Regions from separate parts of the Homo sapiens genome. Here region 2 is linked to region 1. Evidence: promoter capture Hi-C in 16 types of primary human blood cells and fetal thymus (Javierre and others, 2016). All regions are on one chromosome and are shown on one strand. The core of a region is centred on a gene start or on the middle of the fragment in contact, and the rest is flanking DNA. Distances in the headings are between cores, read along the strand shown.

Region 1 (4,557 bases), core at 2,058-4,557:
TTAGTAGAGACAGGGTTTCACTATGTTGGCCAGGCTGGTCTCGAACTCCTGACCTCGTGATCTGCCTCCCTCAGCTTCCTAAAGTGCTGGGATTACAGGCGTGAGCCGCCGTGCCTGGCGTTACATTCTTTTATAGAGACAGGGTCTCCCTCAGTCGCTCAGGCTGGAGTGCAGTGGCGCGATCATGGTTCCCTGCAGCCTCTAACTTCTGAGTGAAGACGATCCTCTCGTCTCGGCCTTCCAAAGTGTTGGGATTACCGGCGTGAGCCACCATGCCCAGCCTATCTATACGTTCTTAAAATGTGTATTTCCTAACAACAGAGAGATTCTCTTATGTCATCAGTACACTTATCAAAATCAGGAAATTGATATTGCAATAGTACTATTATCTAACCTTCAGTCCTTATTCAAATTTATAAGTTGTTGCTCCTATGTTCCTTGGAGCAAATGGGAAAAAAAATTGTTTTTCCAGGCTCTTGATCTAATGGAGGATTACAAATTGCAATTATTTATCAGGTCTCTAGTCTTTAACTGATAGTTTTAGATTTAACTGTTAAATTTGTAACATGGGTTTGTTGGAGTTTTCCTCATTGGATTCAGATAGTGAATTTTTGGTAGAAATGCTATGTCCTTGGTGCATCACATCAGAATACATTCTCTCTCTCTTCACTCTCTCTCTCTCTATATATATACGCACACACAAACACTTTTTTTTTTCTTTCTTTTTTTGAGATGGACTCTCCCTCTGTCACCCAGGCTGGAGTGCAGTGGTGCGATCTCGGCTCACTGCCACCTCTGCCTCCCAGGTTCAAGCAGTTCTCTGCCTCCCGGGTTCAAGCAGTTCTCTGCCTCATCCTCCCAAGTACCTGGGATTACAGGTGCCTGCCACCACGCCCGGCTAATTTTTGTGTTTTAAGTAGAGACAGGGTTTCACCATTTTGGCCAGGCTAGTCTTGAACTCCTGACCTTGTGATTCACTTGCCTCAGCCTCCCAGAAGTGCTAGGATTACAAACGTGAGCCACTGTGCTTGGCCACACACATATACATTTTTTCGAAGAGATGGGGTCTGGCTGTGTTGCCCAGGCTGGAGTGCAGTAGCTATTCACAGGTCTGATTGTAGCCTGCTACAGCCTTGAACTCATGGGCTCAAGCAGTTCTGCTTCAGCCTCCAGAATAGTTGGGACTACAGGAATACACCACCACACATGGGTTCCCAATATTGTGGTGGTATTTTATTCTTTAGATTTTTACCCAGGCCAGTGCAGAGAGGTGTTACCTTTTATCACTTGATTAAGGTGATGATCTTTGCCATGACAGTTCCCAGATGTATTTCAAGCCTTTCCTCTAAGCTCTATGCCAGCATATCTTCCCTGAGACTGCTCTAGCAGCCTCCTAAATTCTGTCTTTAATCTGTTCTCTGCTCAGCAGTTAGAGGGATCTTTTAAGTAAGTAAATCAGATCACATTATTTCCTGTTTTTAACAGTTCGATTGCTTTTCATAATATTTGGAATAAAATCTCAACTTCTTACTCTGGCCTTGTATCATATGCTTTAATACCCAGATACACCTTATGCCATCCCTCCTTCATTGTGTTGAAGCCACACTGGTCTTGAATGGGCCAAGCTCTCTCCTCCTCCATGACCTTTATACATGGTGTCTCTCTTGCCAGGAATGGTCTACCCATTGTTAATACTCATCGTGTAGCAGTGCCAACTTATCTCTTGTATTTTTTCCTAGATATTTTTCTGAGAGTTAACCAGGCTACCACATAAAAAAAGGTTAAGTCCCCACCCTTCTTTTTCTAGCTCACCTTGTTTCCCTCAGAGTTATCACAATTGCAATTGTTTGACTTGTTTTGCTGCCCACGTAGGTGTTGTTTCGTTCCAGTTAGAATAAGTTCCATGAGGGCAGGACCTTTGCTGTCTTTTCTGTTTTATTTTCTCACCTTAGTCTGGTAAGGGGCTCAATAAATAGGTAGTGAATGAATCAGTCTTTAGGTCTTGTTGTCTTGCTTTATAATTTACAAAGCAAAAGATATGAATGAAGAAGAATGTTCATTTTAGCATTTTTTTTGCTACTATCTCCAAACTGGAAATTACCCAAAGGCCCATAAACAAGAGACTGGATAAATTGTGATAACAATCTATAGCAACGGAGTCTACAGCAACTACATGGAACAATGCGGATGAATTTCATAAATAACACTAACAAATAAGCTGACACAATATATCCTGTATGCTTTTATTTATATCAAATTCAAAACAGGCAAAACTAATCTACAGTTCTTATAAGTAATGATCATATTTACCTTTGGTGCAGGCAGCAGTGGCTAAAGGGGAAAAGGGGAGCTTCTGAGCTGCTGGCCATGTTGTTTCTTCATCTGGTGTTAACTACGGGAGTGTGTTATTATTTTTGTTTTAAATTTTTTTAGAGACGGGTCTTGCTATGTTGCCCAGGCTGATCTGGTACTCCTGGCCTCAAGCCATTCTCCTGCCTAAGCCTCCCGAGTAGCTGGGATTAGGGGCACGGGCCACCCCGCCTGGCTGAAGTGTTTGCTTGTGAAAATTCAGAGCCCTATCCATATGGTTTATGCGTTTTCTCACCAAATGTATGTTAACCTAAAAAGTTTTTTTTTAATGCAGTTTCCTGGCTGTACAACCAGAGAACTTTATTTGCAGGTCTGGTGAGGGGCAAGAATCTGCATATAAAAACAAGCTCTCAAACACACTTTGAACTTCCCCGAACACAATTTGAGAAACACTTTGGGACTCCCCCTACAGTTACAGAATTATTTTCTAAAGTACATTATCTTGTTATATCACTCCTGTTTAAAGTTGATTTTTATCCCCTATCTTACAGGATATAGTCCAAACTCCCTAGTCTGGCATTCAAGGCACTCCAAAATCTTACTCCCAAACACCTTCCTAGCTTTTTTCTCCGACCATTCTGCGTCTCTCATTCCTATTTCCCGCAGCATTTCATGCAGCTTGAGCCCCCTGTTTCCTAAAATGTGCTCCCCACAAGCATCTCGAGATCCCCATCCCAGGCAGCCCCAGGCAGTTTTTAAGTTTCTACCAAGCTCCACTATACTGGCAAGGCAACTTTCCCCAAGCAAGTCTTGTTTCCTTCGGAAGGTCGCAGGCGCCCAGGAATGAACAGGATAACTGCTAGTGGCTCCAGATGTCAGAAAACAGATGACCAGATCGAGCACGCGCAGATCTCTGGTTGGTCGGCTGTGTGCCTCCGGAAGGCCCGCCCTGCTCGTCCAATCACGGAGAGGGAGGGCACGTTGAGAGTGATGCCAGGAATCAAGATGGCCGCCTGGGACCGCTCTCAGCCCCTTCGGCCTCTACCTGAAGAGCCACGCCCCGTCTGCTACACCCAACTGATTGGTTCCTCAATCACAGAGAGGAAAGGCAACATGAGGATGACGTCAGTTACAAATATGGCGTTTTGGACGGGCTCGATAGTTTGCTTGGCCTCTACTCAAGGTGCGTCCGGACGTCCAATCACCAAGGGGCGCAGTCGGCTCTTAAATGTGGAGGCAGGGGCCTAGACACTCAGGCTTAGGGGATGTCAGCTGGTACTGTGTACGAGCTGTCCTGTAAACCGTCGCCCGTCCCCTGAAGCCGCGCCCCTCTTCTCTTGCTTGTTGCAAGGGACGGATGTGAAGGGCTGGGCGGGCGTCGAGCTTTGGGTTCTTGCAGTGGGTCATAGACCTGAGGGCACTAGTCCCGCGGCCCAGATGGGGGATGCGAGGGACAGTAGGAGCACGTCCACTTGTCCCACAGTCTCTGCGGTGTCACGAGGCCAGGACTGCCTGCCTGTAACCAGATTGGCCCCTGTATTTGTCAGCTTCAGCTGACTAGATATGTCTCAGTTTTGTTTGTTCAGACACTGGCGATGGGGGCGTCAGTTTAGCAGACAAAATATTTACCTGTAGCCCCAAAGAAAAAGAAACATAAGTCAGTACAAGAATCAAACCAAAAGCTGTGCAGAACCCTGACTTTCTTTCTTGTTCTTAATAACTAACCTTCCAGAGAAGTGACCTAACCCTAGTTATGACCAAATTGACATGGTAGCCATGTGCATAACTACCTGGCAACGTGGACAGGTGCATTTGTATTTAGGAGTGAAAAAATGTTTGTTGTATCAGTTTTTGAAATTTGCAATCTTAGGAACCCTGAAGCTGAGCAAGACTGTTCAAGCCCAGTCAGCCTAAGACCACCAGGGACAAACCTGTAGTCAGCAAAACCAGGTCTATCGATCTTTTTTAATGAGGGAGATTGCACACCAGAGACACCATGGGACATTTTACCAGGGGAAGGAAAATATAAAGTTACAGGATTTTGAGGAAGTGTAAAGTTTAGATGGAACTTAAATGAAGCAGGGTTTTAATAGCCTCAAAACAAAGCAGGACTGTGAAAAAGGGTCAACATCAGGCCTAGACTGCAGAGTGGACCCATTGTCCTGTTTTTTTGAAAACCTTTTCTGAAGCTTTGCAACTGGCTGCTTGTAAATTGAAGCTGTATCTCTGTGTTAAAGTGACTTAGGT
Region 2 (4,557 bases), core at 1,101-3,600, 2.1 Mb before region 1:
GCCCAGGCTGGAGTGCAATGGTGCAATCTCGGCTCACTGCAACCTCCACCTCCGGGGTTCCAGCAATTCTCCTGCCTCAGCCTCCCAAGTGGCCAGGATTACAGGCATGCACCACCACGCCCAGCTAATTTTGTGTTTTTGGTAGAGATGGGGGTTTTTACCATGTTGGTCAGGCTGGTCTTGAACTCCTGACCTCAGGTGAACCACCCACCTCAGCCTCCCAAAATGCTAAGATTACAGGTGTGAGCCACAGAGCCTGGCCTAAAGCGAAGGTTTTGAGTGAGGTTTATATAAGGATTTGATTTTTTTTTTTTTTGAGACGGAGTCTCGCTCTGTCGCCCAGGCTGGAGTGCTGTGGCACGATCTCGGCTCACTGCAAGCTCCGCCTCCCAGGTTCATGCCATTCTCCTGCCTCAGCTTCCCCAGTAGCTGGGACTACAGGCGCTCGCCATCACGCCCGGCTAATTTTTTGTATTTTTTTTTTTTCAGTAGAGACGGGGTTCCACTGTGTTAGCCAGGATGGTCTCGATTTCCTGACCTCGTGATCCGCCTGCCTCGGCCTCCCAAAGTGCTGGGATTACAGGCGTGAGCCACCGCACCTGGACTGATTGGTTTTTTAACATCATTAAAGTTTCTATCAGGTAAAAAAAAATGAGATGGTGTTAGGGTGAGGCAGGTGTTATAGGGGACCAACCTGTTCCAGCATACAGGGAAAGACCTCCAGAAGAAAAGGTTTATAAAGGCAGTATAAAGGCAAAGTGGAGGTTAAGCAGGACACAGGTGTCCAGATTCTGTACTCTCCTAGGAGTAATGGGAGCCATGGATGGTTTTAGGCAGAAGAATGATGAAGCCTGAGATGCATTTAGAGTTTTATTGGCTGTAACATGGTGAAAGTTAGGGAAGACGCCCAGATGAGAAACAAAAAGAACAGTGACAAGGCTGCTACAAGCATGCAGGCCAGAGATAGTGGGAGCAATGAGAAAAGAAGTGTGTGCATTTGAAAGACATTAGAAGTAGATTTGGCAGGCCTTAGTGATCAAGTGGGGAGGGAAAGAAAAGGGAAATTAGGGATGCCTTCTGGGGTTCTGGGTTAAGCAACTGAGAAACTGGTGATGCCCCTTATGTAGGCAGGGAACAGTGGGGGAGATGCTGGAATGGAAATGAAGGTGATATATTCAGTTGTGGAAATGTACAGTGTGAGGTGATGTCAAACGATGTTGAGGCTTGTGGCTATTTGGGGCTGAAACTCAGGGACAAAGGCTAGGTTGGAGATACAGCTTTGAGAAACATCACTTGTAGAAACTGACTGGAACTATGTAGTGGATAAGACTGCCTAAGGAGAATGTGATAGTTTCTCTTATGGCAGAGGAAAAGAAGCTGCAATGGAGACTGAGGGGAGAAAGAGACTAGAGATATAGGAAGAGGAAAACCAGGAGAGTGGGGGTTATGGCTTTTTTTTTTTTTTTAAACAGTGACTGAAAAGGACATACAGGACAGCAATGACAAATGCTGTTGAAAGGTCAAGGAAGGGGTGGGTGCAGTGGCTCACACCTGTAATGCCAGCACTTTGGGAGGCCGAGGTAGGCAGATCACTTGAGGTCAGGAGTTTGAGACCAGCCTGGCTAACATGTTGAAACCCTGTCTCTACTAAAAATACAAAAATTAGCCAGGCATGGTGGCACAGGCCTGTAGTCCCAGCTACTTGGGAGGCTGAGGCTGGAGGATCACTTGAATCCGGCAGGCAGAGGTTGCAGTAAGCCTCAGTGCCATTGCACTCCAGCCTGGGTGACAGAGCGAGACTCTGTCTCAACAACAACAACAAAAGAACAAGGAAGAATAAAGACTAGGTCTTTGAGGAGGGCATTTTCAGTGATATGGTGAAACAGGTATCAGAACTGCAGGGGACTGAGAAATAATGAAAGGTGAAGGTGAAGCAATGGAGTGTTCACATATAGACCACTTTTTCCATGAGGTTTGGTTGTAAAGGGGAGAGGGGAAAGAAGGTGGTAGCTGGAAGGAGAGGAGTTGTCTGGAGCTAAGGGACATCACTTTGATGGTTGCTCTTTCTTCAGTAACGGAGGTTCCTGGGAGAGCAAGCGGGGGAGGGGGGGTTGAAGAGTGGGAGATCTGGGGAGCATGCAGGATATTTGGAAGTTGATTTTGGGGGAGAGCTGGAGAGAGAGCTGCCTTGGCAAATAGGAGCGCTGAAAGGTGTTGAGGACCTAGTTGAAGTTGACAATGTATGTAGCACTGATCTGTGTGGTTGTGAGATTTTGTCCAGCAGCACTTAGAGCCAAGAAGCAGATTCAGAGAAGACAGAAGGTTGGATTCTTCCAGGATTGTAGTGCTGCCAGATGGGTGTTACTATCCTTCTAGTTATGCCAGAAAGATAACTGTGCAAGGAATATAAGTATATTGGGAAGAATGTGATGGAGGTGATAAACCCTGAACTCTCAGCTGATGGGGAAGGAAATGAAGACTCGATGGAGCTTATAAATAAAACAAAGTAGAGGGACAAATGAACTGGAAGTTTCTGCAGGCTAGAGAAACCATGAAAGGAATTCAGAGAATAGCAGAAGGACAGATGAAAGATCAGGTGTCTGCATTTATAACTTCAGAGGTGGAGCTCTTCTGTGGTCCAGGGTGTTACCCTAGGAGTGGAGGACTGAAGAGGACTGGAAGAGAAAGACTCTGGAGTTGACTGTGAACCTGGAGCCAAAGTGAACAATGATTGGAGATGAGAGCTAGGACTTTAGGTACTACATCTCACCCCTGTTGTCCAATCTACCATGGTGCCTGAACCACACCAGTTGCACCAGTCAGAGAGTGTAAGGTCCTGTTCTAAAGCACTCGCACCACAAGTTTTGAGAGCCCAATTCCCCATATTTGTTTGTTTGTTTTGTTTTGTTTTGTTTGTTTTTTGAGATGGAGTTTCGCTCTTGTAGGTCAGGCTGGAGTGCAATGGTGCGATCTCGGCTTACTGCAGCCTCCTCCTCCCAGGTTCAAGTGATTCTCCTGCCTCAGCCTCCCAAGTAGCTGGGATCACAGATGTCCACCATCACGCCCGGCTAATTTTTGTAATTTTTCAATAGAGACGGGGTTTTGCCATGTTGGACAGGCTGGTCCCTGACCTCGTGATCCACCCACCTTGGCCTCCCAAAGTGCTGGGATTATAGGTGTGAGCCACCACACCTGGCCCCAATTCCCCATATTTGAAGAGCACTTATGCTACAGGGTTTTCAATTGCCTTTACCAACCCTGAATCTCCTGGTTTTTCTCCTTCTTTGTGCCTGTTATGACCTACCCTCATTATCAGAGACTCATTGTGGGAGGGGACTACACAAGGGTATAAATCCCAGGAGGTGGTGAACCCTGGAGGCTATCTTAGACTGTATCACAATTCTCTTCAGTTTTCATTTTGTAATTTTTCTCTGGCTATGTAAGCCCCACTTCGATTTCCGCCCATATGATGCTGACTTTCAAAAGTCTATGTCCCGGCTAGGCGTGGTGGCTCACGCCTGTAATCCCAGCACTTAGGGAGGCCAAGGCGGGCAGATCACTTGAGGCCAGGATTTCGAGACCAAACTGGCCAATATGGTGAAACCCCCATCTCTACTAAAAATACAAAAATTAGCTGGGCGTGTTGGCAGATGCTTGTAATCCCAGCTACTTGGGAGGCTGAGGCAGAAGAATCACTTGAGCCTGGGAGGCGCAGGTTGCAGTGGGCCGAGATTGTGCCACTAAACTCCAACCTAGGCCACAGAGTGAGACTCAGCCTCAAAAAAAGTCTGTGTTCAGCCCAGACCTCTACATTGACCTGCAACCTGTATATGCACCTGCTGTGTTGACATCTGTATTAGTCAAGGTTCTCCAGAGAGAGAGAACCAATGTGATATCTATATATCTACAATATAGATCTATATCTATAGATATATGGGAGGGGATTTATTAGGGGAACTGGCTCACATAGTTATGGAGGCTGAGAAGTCCCACAATAGACCATCTACAAGCTGGAGAACCAGGGAGGCTGGTAGACTGCTTCAGTTCAAGACTACCCTGTCTTAGACTTGGCCTCAGAACCAGGGAAGCTGAATGGTGTATCTCCCAGTCCAAGGCCCAAGCCGGGAGAACCTGGGGAACCACTGGTACAAGTCTTGGAGTCCAAAGGCTCAATACTTGCTAAATGAATAAATGGACGGACTCTACTACCTAATCTCCTAGAGTTAGGAGATTAGGGGAACGGGGAATTCTGATGCCAAGGGCAGAAGAGGGGTGTCCCAACTCCAGAGTAGAGAATTTGCCTTTCCTCTGCCTTTTTGTTCTATTATGTGGTGCCTGCGCATATTAGATGAGGACAGATCTTCCTTACTCAGTCCATTGACTTAAATGCCAATATCTTCTGGGAACACCCTCATAGACATACCCAGAAGTAATGTTCCCCCAGCTACCTGAGTATCCCTTAACCTAGTCAGGTTGACATCTAAAACTAATCATCGCAAAATCCTAACCAAGTCTCAAAGGTGCCTCAAATTCAACTTGTCTAAGATGGAGCTCAAG

The links. The method cuts DNA at HindIII sites, captures the fragments that hold promoters and counts their contacts. A CHiCAGO score of 5 or more calls a contact.
Region 2: a fragment that was not itself captured here is called in contact with the fragment with the promoter of ENTPD3-AS1 in region 1 in 4 of 17 cell types (total B cells, naive B cells, naive CD8 T cells and 1 more); the score reaches 9.4 in total B cells.

What each region holds. Positions count from the first base shown.
Region 1 is chr3:40,452,058-40,456,614 of GRCh38, reverse strand. It overlaps ENTPD3-AS1 (ENTPD3, EIF1B and MYRIP antisense RNA 1), which reads left to right and starts at 3,307. Exons shown (of 4, transcript NR_040100.1): 1 at 3,307-3,493. RefSeq lists enhancers at 3,414-3,483, 3,504-3,573. The HindIII fragment of the contact is 7,917 bases long and covers 1-4,501 here.
Region 2 is chr3:42,583,495-42,588,051 of GRCh38, reverse strand. It overlaps a transcript of SEC22C not described here and a transcript of SS18L2 not described here. Among named protein-coding and RNA genes, the nearest start is that of SEC22C, 3.8 kb to the right of the region's middle. The HindIII fragment of the contact is 5,967 bases long and covers 1-4,557 here.